5 separate regions of the Homo sapiens genome follow, and regions 2, 3, 4 and 5 are each linked to region 1. The links are contacts of gene promoters, found by promoter capture Hi-C in blood cells and fetal thymus (Javierre and others, 2016). All regions are on one chromosome and are shown on one strand. Each heading gives the region's core, a stretch centred on a gene start or on the middle of the fragment in contact. The rest is flanking DNA. Distances are from core to core; before and after follow the strand shown.

Region 1 (2,738 bases), core at 159-2,658:
GCCAGAGTGAGACTCTGTCTCAAAAAAAAAAAAAAAAAGAGGGGGCAGATGTGGTGGCCACAAAGAGTCATCACATTGCTACCACTTAATATTGTCTCAGCTTCTCTAGAGTCGGGAAAATACCATAAGAAAGAACTGCAAAGTGTTACAAAACAGGAAATGCCATGTAATATAAAACCCAGCTTACACACACAGATGCACTCAGCATGGAAAAACATACAAGACGAGGAAAGCGAACTAGTTCGACCTCAGATCGTCAACGTCAAATGAATGAAAGATGTTTTGGAAACTCACCAAGTTTTCATTTACTATGCCATCGCTTGCTGCAAAGAAAGCCAGAACATGGGATATAAAATATCTCTCCTCGGGTTTCAGGGATTCCCAGTGCTGAATGTCCTTGGAGAGGTCCACCTGAGGTTCGGAAGTCACAATTTTAGCATAAAAGGAAGAGAGTAAAGCCTACAGGACTCACACTGAGCACTCAAACTTTAAGTATGCTGGCACCACTTACTATGCCCCACAGTTAGCCCCCCTTGCCAACGGGAACCTCCAAGTGCATTTATGTCTGAGGCGTGACGGTCACCCCTGCAGGGGTCTTCTGGGGTCCTCCGATTACCTCCTCGGCGGTCCAAAAGGAAGCCTCTGCCTTCTTATACATCTGCCAGATATCATGGTACTCGATGGGGAAGATGACAAAGCGGCGGGGGTTTTCTCTCAGCAGCGGCTCATCCTCCACGCCGGGGGCAGCTGCTTTAGTTTTCTGTTGGGGGAGAAAATAAAACATTTAAGTACCGGGCGAACCATATGAAACTAACGTTTTTCTGGACCAAGTCCTTTCCATTGGCGGCAATTTCACGGGGCCCGATGTGAAAACGTGGCTGTCCCGTCGCACTCCGTGGGTCGCAGCAGAGGAGCGCACGCCCGAACCGGGAAATGGGCCGAGGGGCGCGGGAGGCAGCCCTGGGGAGGGGCCGCCTAGGCGGGAAAGGAGCCGGGGCGGGAGTGTGAACAGCTGAGGAAACAATGCGGCTTTGGCGCCAAGACGCCCAAGGCCGTCCCTGGCCCCTCTGCCCCACGCCCGCCACTCACCGGCTCCGTGGGCTCCTGGAAGATCCTCCTCGCGGTCTTGCTGGCCAGGACGCGGGTCCCGCTCAGGGCCGGCGGCTGCGGGGAGACGCGTGTGAGTGAGGAGCGGCTTCGCTTTCCCTGCCTCCCTCCCCTGCCCGCAGCGCCCTCCCCGCGGGCTCACCGTGTTCTCCTTGTCGACCAAGCTGAGCCCCTTCAGCGGCGAGAGCTGCAGCTGCTGCGGGTCCGTGATGGGCGCGAGCGGGACACGGAGGGAGAGCATAGTGGAGGCGCAGCGAAGCAGAGCGAGCAGCCAGGACAGGACGGCTGGGACAGGGTGCACGGGCGACCCCTCACTCCAGCAGCCTTTAAATCTCCCGCGCCGCGCGCTCCCGGCCCTTCCCATTGGCTTTGGTGCCCCGGCCCTTCCCATTGGCTGTGCCATGCCTCCGACCCTTCCCATTGGCTGCGCCTTGCCCCTACCCAGGCTGGCCGCGGGGCCGCGCGCGATTTTCAAGCGCAGCGCGGGAGCCTCCGCCGGCGCCTTCCGGAGACCCCCGGGGACACCCCCGTGGACGCCCCCCGGGACCTCCCGGTTCCCCCCCCGGCCCGTCCGCTGGCTGGGTCGGGGGCGCCGCCGCCCAGGCCCCCACAGGTCCCGCGGGACCAGGGCCGCAGCCCCTGAGGGTCTCGGCGGCCTTGGCGCGCGCGGGCCCCGGTTCGCCCGGGAACCGTTTAGGATTGCGTGAGGAGCAGCGATTGGAGCCCGCGGGCGCGAGAGGATCCCCGGGCCGCGGCCCCGCCTCCCGAAAGCACCTCCTCCCAGCCGGGCCGCCGCCGGGCAGGGGGCTTAGCCAACGAGGTTGGTGCAAAGGCCTGGAAAACGCTCCTGGGTGCGGGGGAGGCGTTGCTGCGACCCTTTCGATCCGTGTCCCTGCGGTGGGGGTGCAAGGGCCCCGAGGCCTGACATTTTGGCGGGGTGGTCGGCGAGGACCCTACAGCCTAAAAGTTAGGGCCGCTGAGCCCCGTGGCTCGTTTTGCTGGGACAAGCGACCAGGCTTCTTACAGATTCGGTGTCCCCGTGAGTAAAATGGGACTCGTAACCGCGTGGACTGTTAATGCGGTGAGGAGAGCGTTCGTTGAGATGACTCATGTAAAATGTGCAGTCCTTTGTAAACCTTCAAACTACGGGACATGGCGAGAAGGCCCTTGGTGCAGTTTTCCACAGAAATCCTGTCTCCTGTCAGACCCCTGACCCCTATTGTCACCCTTGCCTTAAGAATTGCAAACTGTGGCTGGGCGCGGTGGCTCACGCCTGTAATCCCAGCACTTTGGGAGGCCAAGGCAGGAGGATTGTTTGAGGCCAGGAGCTGGAGACCATCCTGGGCAACATAGTGAGACCCCGCCTCTGCCATTAAAAAGAGAAGAAAAAAAGTTGTTTTAATTGCAAACTGAGCAAAAATTCCTGGGAGAAAGTTCACAGAATGATTTTAGGACTAGGAATTAATGTACTACTCATTGGGCGTCAAATATGCTGAAGAGGAGTTTGAAAACTCCACTGGTGTAGAGACTGGAACTTAGCAATAGCTTTCATTTAATTTTCTATGTGGCTTTCTGATTTGCCAGGCCCTGCAACGGGCAAAATGCCAAAAATAAAGGAAGAGAAAGAAACT
Region 2 (2,738 bases), core at 173-2,672, 600 kb before region 1:
TAGCAACCTGTCTCCCTCTCCTGTCTCCCCCTGACCAATCCATCCCTTTTTCACTCCTCCCCAAGAATTTTACCTTGAAGTCAGGAATAGCGAATTTGGTATTATAAGACAGGTTGGACTTGGAGGTTACAGTATTCATCCTCTCCAGAGCTTGCAAATTTTCCTTATCGCCAGGGGCAGAAATTAACCAAAACTCCGACATGCTTCCAGTCTTCTCTTACCCAGTGACTGCCCAGAACCAGGACAAACATACACAAACAGAAACAGAAGGAGAGATGTGTCAGATATCCCCGCCTCACCACTCCCTACCCTCCAATTCATCCTTTCTAGGATGAGCTCCAAGGACATCCATTTGCAAAAGCAAAGCTCTTATCTCCACCTGGGCAGCCCTCAGGTGTTCCCGAAACTCCAAAGCTCCTTGGTCCCTGCAGTGGTTCTGGCTGGTTTTCAGGAGCAGAGGAGGAGGGAGAGGTTCCTTTCTTTCTCTCCACCTCAGTGAACAACCCCTATCAGGCATCATAAAACGGGAGGACAGTAAGCTGGAGGCGGACACCTTCTGGGGGAATATTTGTCTTCCTTCCACACTGCATCTTCTGGGATGCAGGATGGGGTGGAGGAAGGCGTGGGATGAGGAAGGGATTTTCACAACAGGCTACCAGGTCAAACCGCAGGTCAAACTGGCCAACCTTGTGATTGGTATTAGCTTTAAAAATAGACTTCAGAGGATTTTTTTAAATAAGAAAAAAAAAAGTAGTAGGGGGTGAGGGGAACTACTAAAGTCTTTTTTCCACTAGGCGAGGTGCCCGCTCAGCAGTGCTGGGTCCCTTGCCCGGCGTGGCCGGTGGTTTCGCGGCCGCGTCTGCAGCCTCTACGGCCGATTCGATTCGTGCTGCTCCTTCACAGGTGTCCACACCCGCACCTTTCCCCCTCGGCCAGGTTCCCCCTTTCCGCTTGCCTCCCCGCGGCGTCTCCGGACGGCTGGGGGAAAGCAGGATAAGCTCTGAGGAGCCAGAGACCCCTGGTGGAACCTCTTCCTTTCGGACTCCCGGTCCCGCTCCAATCCGAGGGCATTTTGTTCTCTCCTAACCCCGCGCAGACCCAACGCAGCTCCTTTCCGCCTTGACTGCCCATGGCCTGGGGACGAACTGGCCCGCCGCAGCACCTGCGGAGATGCTACCAGCCCGGCCGCGGGGAAGCGCGCGGAGGTGCACGCTGCCCACGTTTCCAATGGGAAAGCGCAGGCTGGTGCGCAGCCGGACCCCGTGCCTGTGTCCCCACCCCGCCCCTGCCTCGGGTCCCCGCTCCGCGGTGCGTCCTTACCGGGAGCCGGCGGGGCGCGGGCCGCGCGGTAGGGGGCTGCGGGCGACGGGCGGCGGGTGCGGGGCCGGAGCGCTCTGCCGGCTCCCGGGAGGCAGCGGCTTCGCTGCCCCGCGCCCCGCCCCGCCTTTTATCCCGGGCTCTGGAGGCGGCCCCGGCCCCGCAGGATATTTGCATACGGGCCGTCCGCCTCCCGCCTCGCTCCAGCCAGGGGCCCGAGAGCCGGGGAGCAGGTGCAGGCGCCGGGCAGGAAGGCGCGGAGGAGACGCGCAGGGTCTCCAGTCCCCTACGCGCGAGGGCCGGGGCCCTGGGGGCTTCTGCGGCGCGTCCCACGGGGTCTCCTGCCGCACGACTGCGCTGCCGCGTCCGGGACGCGTGGACGGCTGAGCCGGGTGGGAGTCGGGAAAAGGCTCTGAGCTCGGGACCACCCCGCCCTCCCGCTGCGGCCGCCGCAGCCCCGCTTGCCCACCCACTCTCGCCTCACAGAGACATGCGCGGATCTCAGGGGAATCACCTACTCCCAGGTGTCTCCAGGCCAGTGCAAGAGACAGGGCCCACCTGTGGGGAGCCGCGCAACAGGTGCGCAGGTGCTCGGGACGCACCTGCGTAGACAGCGAAGCTTTTCCTGTCCGTGTGGGCGCGGGTGTGCGCCCGGTTGCCCAGGAAACTCCCACCTCACCCTCTCCACCTTCCGAATTGCCCTGTGGATGGGGGGTGGGGGGGCGGTTACAACTCACCGTACGACGATCAGAGATGAGTTCATGATCGGTGCTGTCTGGAACCAGGAGGGGGAAACCCTGGAAATTAACGTGTGAAGGTTAAAAACAAGACAAAACCAAAGGAAAACTCGGAGAATTCATTTTCTCTGGACCGAAGGAGAAGGCTTTAAAGCATCCTTCCATGTGGGCGATGTTTTCAGTGGTTTCTGGGAAAGATGAAGATCTCAAGAGTGTCCTTCGAGGGGGCATTGGAGACGGTGTTCTTGCTTCCTTAAACGTGGACTCCCCCTCCTGTGTAAACTAGCCTTATCTATCAACCCATTCTTGTGAATGCATCAGGGTCTTTGGCAGAAGGATTTGACATCATCTGAGACTTAAGCTGTAATCACATAGGGTGGGATGGGAAGCCCCAGAGACGGGACAGAAAGGTGGCTTTAAGATCACAGTGGGGTCGTACTGCCAGCCTAGGTTAGACTTGGAAGTCCCAGCACCTGCAGCAGGCATCGTTATTGGGACACTAATGTGCATTAGTCAGTCCTTGCAACATCTTCCTGAGGGAGGATACCTGAAACCAAGGGATGGGGAAACTCCGGTATGTTTGAGGACATTAAGTGGCTATTCCAGGGAAGGAGTGGCCCAGTTAGACATTAAAGCGGGGTGGTCTCCAATCTTGGACGTTATCCAGGCACGACATTTTATCCA
Region 3 (2,738 bases), core at 94-2,593, 560 kb before region 1:
GAAGGCAAAGGTGAGAGGATTGTTTGAGCCCAGGAGTTTGAGCCTTCGGTGAGCTACAGTCACATCGCATCATTGTACTATAGACTGGGCAAGCATGAGACCCTGTCTCTAAAAAAGTAAAAATAAAAGAAATTATCTAATGTATGTAAGTATACACAAGAAAAAAAATCCAGGAGATATTTAATACGTTACGAGTAGAGTTAGGATTAGAGAATATTTTTTGCTTCCTATGTTATATATTCCTATGAAGTTTGAATTTTTAAATATAAGCATGTATTGATTTTGCAAGCCGAAAAACAATTTAGCTAAATTTGTTTTAAAATAAACTCTCTTCATTTTCTTTAAGTGGCTTTCTGATAGGAAGAAGAGAGCGCTACAGAAGAAAGATGTAGGTGAGTATTGTTTTTTCCCACTTCAGCTGCGTTAGTGATCCATGTTCTAATGCTTTTACTCATTTGCTGTTATATATAAGTGAGGATTTATAAGAATGCGGTAACATGTAGTGGAAAATGAATGCTCTTGTCCCTTTTCTTTTTTTTCCTTTGACATGGGGTCTCACTGTGTTGCCCAGACTGGTCTCTAACTCCTGGGCTTGAGCAGACCTCCCACCTTGGCCTCCCAAAGTTTTGGGATTACAGGCATGAGCCACTGTACGCAGCTCTTCTCCTTTTTTTTTTTTTTTGAGATGGAGTTTCACTCTTATTGCCCAGGCTGGAGTGCAATGGTGTGACCTCGGCTCACTGCAACCTCCACCTCCTGGATTCAAGCAGTTCTCCTGCCTCAGCCTCCTGAGTAGCTGGGATTACAAGCCACCACGCCCGGCTAATTTTTTTTGTATTTTTAGTAGAGATGGGGTTTCTCCATGTTGGTCAGGCTGGTCTCGAACTTGCGACCTCAGGTGATCCACCTGCCTTGGCCTCCCAAAGTGCTGGGATTACAGGTGTGAGCCACCGCGTCCGGCCGCCTTTCTCCTTCTTAAGAAACTTTTTGTTGTGGTTGGTATGTTCCTGGTGGGTATGGGATTTGATTTTACCTTATTAACTAATAAGTTAGCCTGTTACCGTTTCATGGATAACAATAGTAGACGCAAGACTCCTGGGCTAGAAATGCAGATGTTATTACTCACAGCACAGTAGATAGCATGAACATCAGCATATTTGTGCCAGTTCCCCTCTTGGGTCTCCTGGGGACACTTAGCACAGTCCAGGTGGATGCTTGGCACACAGTGGATTTGCGTTGTGGCCGAGCAACACAGCTTGGGAAGTCCACTGCTTTTCTGGCAAGCAGTAAGCAAACCTGTGTTTTGTCCAGAAGGGACAGGTTACCTGTCTATCAAGGTTCTCAGCAGTGTAAACAACCCTGAGAAATGGCTCAGGTAAGAGTGGCTGGGGTCTTGCAATCTCGCCATACCCAGTAAGCATGCAGGTCCAAGGAGGACTGTCTCTCCTAACAGGTCCCTAATTGCTTTGCTCTCTTGTGTATCAAAATCTTATCGTGTAAATTAAATCCATTTATCAGTGTTTGAGATACAGAGACAATGAGCATTTCTTGAAGAAAGGAATTTTACATGTAGGGTTTATGAATCTGAACAGTTAAAGGTGATTGCAGAAGATGTTGGTTCTTTTAAATTTACGGCAGCAAGAAATTGTAAGAAAAATTTCTAACTTAAATAATTTTGGTGCACAAGTTTTCATTATATTTTCTTCATTATAGCTTGTCACATATGAAAGAAAATTTATTTTCCCATATATTTTGTTTAACTTACTCTTTAAAAACCTAAGGTATCAAAGGGGTTTCCTCTTGTCTGCAGATAATTGGTTCCAAAAGAGGTATAAGTCAGCTTCGTAGCAGTTTCTTATATAAACTTAAGAGGTTGGGTCAGGCACAGTGGCTTATGCCTGTAATCCCAGCACTTTGGAAGGCCCAGGCGGGCAGATCATGAGGTCAGGAGTTCAAGACCAGCCTGGCCAACGTAGTGAAACCCCGTCTCTACTAAAAATACAAAAATTAGCCAGGCATGGTGGTGCGTGCCTGTAGCCCCAGCTACTTGGGAAGCTGAGGCAGGAGAATTGCTTGAACCTGGGAGGTGGAGGTTGCTGTGAGCCAGGATTGTGCCACTGCACTCCAGCTTGGACAACAGGTGAGACTTGTCTCAAAAAAAAAGAGTTTGGAGAGTTTGGGGGCTTAAACCTGTTACTTAGGAGAAAAAAAAGTTGGATTTTTGTCTTTGCCATGATTGAGTAGTAATAGTGGTTTAGGGGCCCAGTGCGGTGGCTCACTCCTGCAATCCCAGAAGTTTGGGAGGCTGAAGTGTGAGGATTGCTTGGCCCTAGAAGTTTGAGACCAGCCTGGGCAACGTGGCGAAACCCCATCTCTACAAAAAATACAAAAATACCTGGGTGCAGTGGCATGCGCCTGTAGTCCTAGCTATTTGGGGGGGCTGAGGTGTGAGGATCGCTTCAGCCCGGGAGGTTGAGGCTGCAGTGAGCCATGATTGTGCCACTGCACTCCAGTCTGGGTGACAGAGTGAGACCCTGTCTCAAAAAAAAAAAAAAAAAAGTGGTTTAATGTTTATGCTCTTCCTCCTGTAACACTGGATGTTTGATACACTGTTGTGGAAAATTTTTTTTCAATTAATGATGCTACTTTTTTTATTCTTGAAAAGTAAAAATGAAATACTTAGCTTAGAAAAACAACGTATGAGCTAAGGAAAAAACCTCTGCTGTTTAATGGTTGGG
Region 4 (2,738 bases), core at 162-2,661, 540 kb before region 1:
TTAGTTCTTAGTTATCATAATATTGTCAAACTAAATGTTTGCATTTTGTGCTTTTTGAAGTGCCTAAGAGGGGAGGTTTGGCAATGGAAATATTCAAATTTAGGTAATAGAAAATCAGTGTGCTTAAAAATACATTTTGTATTTACACTGGAAGTTATCTGCATACCCATTTTGTGTTTTTGGAATGCAACTTTTCTTTTTTATGTCCATAAAATTTATTAACTCATTTTGAGAAGACATAGAAGACTAGACCATTTGGAATTACCTGCTGTAGTTTAAAAAGGTTTCCCTTCGATTATTCATCTTTGCAACATACCTACTTGTAATAATATTAAAAGATTAATGAGGTCAGAACCTCCTAAGTATATTGAAGGGTTTGCTTTTAAGGTAGTTAATATATTAAACAATCTTAAAACATCTTTGTTTATGTTTTTGTTTTATCATTACAAAATCAAATGATAGACAAGAACACAAAGTGAAAAGTGTAATTCCCTTCCACCCTGTCCTATTCCTGTTTCCTTAGGTAAATACTGTTAATAATTTGCTGTGTATCCTCTCAGGTTTTTCTGTTTGCACAAGCATTTTTTTAAAAACACAAATGTTGGCTGGGTGTGGTGGCTCACGTCCGTCATCCCAGCTCTTTGGAAGTGCGAGTGGGTGGAACGCTTGAGTCCAGGAGTTCGAGACCAGCCTGGGCAACATGGCGACACCTCTTCTCTACCAAAAATCCAAAAATTAGACAGGCGTGGTGCATACCATAGATGCAGCTACTGGGGAAGCTGAGGTGAGAGGATGGATTGAGCCTACAAGGTGGAGGCTGCAATACGCTGTGATTGTGCCCTGCACTCCAGCTGGGCGACTGAACAAGACCTTGTCTCAAACACACAAACAACGACCCCTCATTTAAAAAAGTAAATTGCTTTTTTGTGGACACAATTCTAGTACATGTATATTCACATCATTCTTTGTAATGGCTAATACTCAGTTTAAATGGACGTACTACAGTTTCTCCATTCTGTTTTTTTTTGAGACAGTCTTGCTTTGTTTCCCAGGCTGGACTCGGCTCACCGCAATGTCTGCCTCCCAGGTTCAAGCGATTCTCTTGCCTCAGGCTCCCGAATAGCTGGGATTACAAGCACCTGCCACCATGCCCAGCTAATTTTGTATTTTTAGTAGAGACGGGGTTTCACCATTGGCCAGGCTGGTCTCGAACTCCTGACCTCAGGTGATCCACCTACCTCGGCCTTCAAAAGTGCTGGGATTACAGGCATAAGCCACCATGCCCGGCCTGTTCTGTTTTTTTGGGTTTTTTTTTTTTTTAGACGGAGTCTCTCTCTGTTGCCTAGGCAGGAGTGCAGTGGCACGCTCAGCTCGCTGTAGCCTCTGCCTCCCGGGTTCAAGCAATTCTCCTGCCTCAGCCTCCTAGTGTGTGGGATTACGGGCATGCGCCACTATGCCTGGCTAATTTTGTATTTTTTTTTTTTTTGGAGACGGAGTCTCGCTCTGTCGCCCAGGCTGGAGTGCAGTGGTGCGATCTCGGCTCACTGCAAGCTCCAGCCTCCCGGGTTCATGCCATTCTCCTGCCTCAGCCTCCCAAGTAGCTGGGACTAAAAGCGCCCGCCACCATGCCCGGCTAATTTTTTGTATTTTTTAGTAGAGACTGGGTTTCACTGTGTTAGCCAGGATGGTCTCGATCTCCTGACCTCGTGATCTCCCCATCTTGGCCTCCCAAAGTGCTGGGATTACAGGCGTGGCCACCGCGCCTGGCCGGGATTCTTCTTTTCATTAAAAAAAATTTTCCCCAGCTTTTTATTTTTAAAAAGTTCACATCTTTGTAAAAGTTTAGTGATATATATATTTTGCATTTTCTTTTCCCATAAAAATGTACATGTATTAAAAATGTTTTTTGAACCTTTTGAAAATAAGTTGCAGGCATTATGATATTTCTTCCCTAAATACTTTAAAATGGATTTCTTAAAAATAAGGACTTTTTCTATGAAATAAACAATGTTAATGTGGTTTATTTTTGTATGTGTTTTAAGGATTTCTTAGCAGCTTTTTTTTTTTTTTTGAGACGAAGTCTTGCTCTGTCGCTCAGACTGGTGTGCAGTGGCATAATCTCGGCTCACTGCAACCTCCACCTCCCGGGTTCAAGCAGTTCTTCTGCCTTAGCCTCCCAAGTAGCTGGGATTACAGGCGTGCACCACATACCCAGCTAATTTTTTGTATTTTTAGTAGAAACAGAGTTTCGCCATGTTAGTCAGACTAGTCTCAAACTCCTGGCTTCAGGTGATCAGCCCGCCTCGGCCTCCCAAAGTGCTGGGATTACAGGCATGAGCCACCATGCCCCGCCTTCTACAGCTTTTATTTAAAATTGTTTTTCATTTGCATAGGGTAGAGTGGAGTGCTGGGACCCAAGAACTCGAAACAGAGTTGGCCTGTTAGACTGCGCCTTAAACAGTGTCACAGCAGATTCAGAGTAAGTAGAAATTAATTTGCAATGTAAATGTTCATCAACTTTTAATTTAAGTAATGTGTCTATATTAAATTCAAATAAATTGCTACAGGATATCTGAAATTGTACTTTCCATGATTGTTTTTCATAAAGATCCTCTCCTGTAAAAGCTCACTAGTGAGTAAGCCAGATAGAATTTCTTTCCAAAATACTATACAGAAGGCCTTATTTCTTTAGTTGCTGTACGATTTTATTAAAACAATTACACTACAGGAATTTGTAT
Region 5 (2,738 bases), core at 167-2,666, 520 kb before region 1:
TGCTAAGATGAAAGATTCTACAAGAGTTACAAGCTATGAAAAACAGCTCTGACTTTGTTTTGGTTTAATTTAGACATTATTCTTGCTTTTTTAGACTTCATTAGGTGCTTTTAGATGTTTTTACGGGGTGTGTGTGTGTGTGTGTGTGTGTATGTGTGTGTGTGTGTTTTGTGTGCATATATTTTTGGTGACCTGTTGGTCCCAGTTCAGGGCTAGCTCACACTTCTGAGTTATTGGCAAGACGTGGTTTTGGTAAGATAGTATCGAGGCCAGATGCGGTGGCTCATGCCTGTAATCCCAGCATGTTGGGAGGCCGAGGCGGGCGGATCATGAGGTCAGGAGATTGAGACTGTCCTGGCTAACATGGTGAAACCCCCCTCCACTAAAAATACAAAAAATTAGCCAGGCGTGGTGGGCGCCTGTAGTCCCAGCTACTCGGGAGGCTGAGGCAGGAGAATGACGTGAACCCAGGAGGTGGAGCTTGCAGTGAGCCGAGACCACGCCACTGCACTCCAGCCTGGGCAACAGAGCAAGACTCTTGTCTCAAAAAAAAAAAAAAAAAAGATAGTATTGAGTTCCTGCTTGAGTGGTAATTGACTCTATTCACTCAGCATCTCATTTCTGTAATAGAGTCAAATATCATCACTTTTACAAACTTTTGTGTTAATAAAAGGAAAGGCAGCAAAAAATATTTTTAAAAACAGAATCTAATCATTGCCCTTAACATTTGGTATATTCATTTATCATTATGTGATCTGATAATCTAAATGTCTTCTCTCTGTGGATTCCTCTTGTATCTTACAAATAGATTTTTAAAATGAATTCTTATTTAGCTGATCTGTAGAAGTCTTTATTTAAAAGCAGGCGCTCTTGAGTTTGACTTTAGCTTTAACATTCTCTCACGACTGGGGCATCAGTCCCTCTGAGCTTTATTTTCTGATCAGTAAAATAGGGCTGATGATACATCTTCTTTGAGAGGGTTGTTGTATGTTCACTAAGATAGTATATGTGAAAGTGCCTAGATGATTATGAAGGACTGGTCAAAGGCTTGCTGGTTTCAGTTTTATTTAAAGTGCAGTGGTCCAGAGCAGGGGATCTGAGGAGTTTTGATGTTTGCATATTGCCATGTTGGAGCTGCTTCAGAACACTTGTGGGGAAGGAGTATGTTGCAAAAATGGCAGAGAAAAGGGAACAAAACCGAGATATTTGAATACTTTGATACTAAGTAGTTTAGTACCAAATAATAATGTACTTATAGGTTGCTCCTGGGGTTATAGAGAATCCTTTATTGAATGCCGGAAAGTTATCTCTTTCTTCAGTTTTGCTTTCTTATATGCTGATCCCAAGGAGACTCAATTATTAACCACCCTGTTGGTTCAGTCTGTTATAATTCCCTGTGAGGGAGTGACTGTGCTGTAGTCAGGGCTGTTAGAGTCCCTCTAGGACTTTCTGGTGTAGATGATAACAAAATGTAGACATTTTGTTTTGCAGTCAGTTTTGTAAAAGTTAGGAATTTGCTTTGCAAAAGCAAAGCAAATTTGTTCTGGAAAATTCGAATTTGTTTTGTAAAAGTTAGGAATTTGCTGTGACATTTTGTGGGAAATACTATACTTTGGTTCACTGACTAACAGAAGTTCCTCAGGCATTTCAGAATGGAAAGCAAATAGAAAAGGGTACTTTCTTTTTCCTATGCATTGACCTTTTTCATTGTATTTATTTTTAGGCATGCTTCTGACGGCCAATGAAACCCCCAAGATGGGCATCTATTACATTCCAGTAAGTAATACAAAGAGGAGTTTCAGTAAAAATAGGACAAGCAAAGATACTTTTTATTATTTATTTAATTTTTTGAGACGGAGTCTGGCGATCACCGATGCTGGGGTGCAGTGGTGCAGCCTCAGCCCACTGCAACCTCTGCCTCCTGGGTTCAAGTGATTCTCCTACCTCAACCTCCTGTAGCTGGGATTACAGGTGTACGCTACCACACCTGGCTAATTTTTGTATTTTTGGTAGAGACGGGGTTTTGCCATGTTGGCTGGGGTGGTCTTGAACTCATGACCTCAAGTGATCCTCCTGCCTGGGCCTCCCAAAGTGCTGGGATTACAGGTGTGAGCCACCACTCCCGGCCAAAGATACTTTTTAAATTGGATGTATTGAGGAACCTGGGTCTACATGTGGCTGTGTACATTAGACACAGTGGACTCACTTTTGGGTTGAATTTGCTTTCTGGAGCCAGTCAATTCATGCTCAAACATTCTTTTATGGGAACTGTTTAATATCATGTTAAAACAGACATTATAAATTAGTATTTATTCTTCTGATTTACATTTATTTTTTGTTTCCAAGTATTTCAGAATCTTAAACTTTCAGCTGTTAGTGATCCGGAGGTCTAATTCTGAAAAGTCTATTACTCTTCAAGTCATCTCACTATAGTTTGTTTCTTTTAAAAATAAGTTACATATATAAATTATCATAGATCATCCTGATCAGGGATGACATGTAGTTTGCCAAAAAAACCTTTTTTTCCCTCCTTAAATAATTCTTCTCTTAAATAGCCAGAAGCTCCCACCCTTCCCTTTAAGTTTATAGTAAAAAATGAAGCAAGGAAATACGATTTCATAAGCAGAAAAACACATAGTATAAAGTTGGCATTAGATTACTTTATACTCAGCAGACATCTCCCTTACCTGAGATTTGAGAAGAGAGTAGAGTGAGGGGTACTGAAGATCAGAATCTGA

Evidence for each region. The method cuts DNA at HindIII sites, captures the fragments that hold promoters and counts their contacts. A CHiCAGO score of 5 or more calls a contact.
Region 2: a contact is called between the fragment with the promoter of ATP6V1C2 here and the fragment with the promoter of RRM2 in region 1, in 2 of 17 cell types (M0 macrophages and total B cells). The highest score is 5.5, in M0 macrophages.
Region 3: a fragment that was not itself captured here is called in contact with the fragment with the promoter of RRM2 in region 1 in 11 of 17 cell types (naive CD8 T cells, total CD8 T cells, fetal thymus and 8 more); the score reaches 10.9 in naive CD8 T cells.
Region 4: a fragment that was not itself captured here is called in contact with the fragment with the promoter of RRM2 in region 1 in 16 of 17 cell types (naive CD8 T cells, endothelial precursors, total CD8 T cells and 13 more); the score reaches 28.7 in naive CD8 T cells.
Region 5: a contact is called between a fragment that was not itself captured here and the fragment with the promoter of RRM2 in region 1, in 1 of 17 cell types (activated CD4 T cells). The highest score is 5.1, in activated CD4 T cells.

What each region holds. Positions count from the first base shown.
Region 1 is chr2:10,121,409-10,124,146 of GRCh38, reverse strand. It overlaps RRM2 (ribonucleotide reductase regulatory subunit M2), which reads right to left and starts at 1,408. Exons shown (of 10, transcript NM_001034.4): 1 at 1,250-1,408; 2 at 1,090-1,164; 3 at 617-760; 4 at 295-411. The coding sequence starts at 1,348. RefSeq lists silencers at 1,447-1,947, 1,354-1,953 and enhancers at 2,174-2,283, 2,304-2,373, 2,131-2,686, 2,735-2,738. The HindIII fragment of the contact is 3,317 bases long and covers 1-2,738 here.
Region 2 is chr2:10,720,314-10,723,051 of GRCh38, reverse strand. It overlaps ATP6V1C2 (ATPase H+ transporting V1 subunit C2), which reads right to left and starts at 1,422. Exons shown (of 14, transcript NM_001039362.2): 1 at 1,321-1,422; 2 at 74-228. The coding sequence starts at 202. The HindIII fragment of the contact is 5,016 bases long and covers 1-1,938 here.
Region 3 is chr2:10,682,221-10,684,958 of GRCh38, reverse strand. It overlaps NOL10 (nucleolar protein 10), which reads left to right. Exons shown (of 21, transcript NM_024894.4): 2 at 347-392. Among named protein-coding and RNA genes, the nearest start is that of NOL10, 6.4 kb to the left of the region's middle. The HindIII fragment of the contact is 4,977 bases long and covers 1-2,738 here.
Region 4 is chr2:10,662,700-10,665,437 of GRCh38, reverse strand. NOL10 (nucleolar protein 10) reads left to right here. Exons shown (of 21, transcript NM_024894.4): 9 at 2,394-2,479. Among named protein-coding and RNA genes, the nearest start is that of NOL10, 26 kb to the left of the region's middle. The HindIII fragment of the contact is 3,499 bases long and covers 1-2,738 here.
Region 5 is chr2:10,643,358-10,646,095 of GRCh38, reverse strand. It overlaps NOL10 (nucleolar protein 10), which reads left to right. Exons shown (of 21, transcript NM_024894.4): 13 at 1,724-1,776. Among named protein-coding and RNA genes, the nearest start is that of NOL10, 45 kb to the left of the region's middle. The HindIII fragment of the contact is 6,652 bases long and covers 1-2,738 here.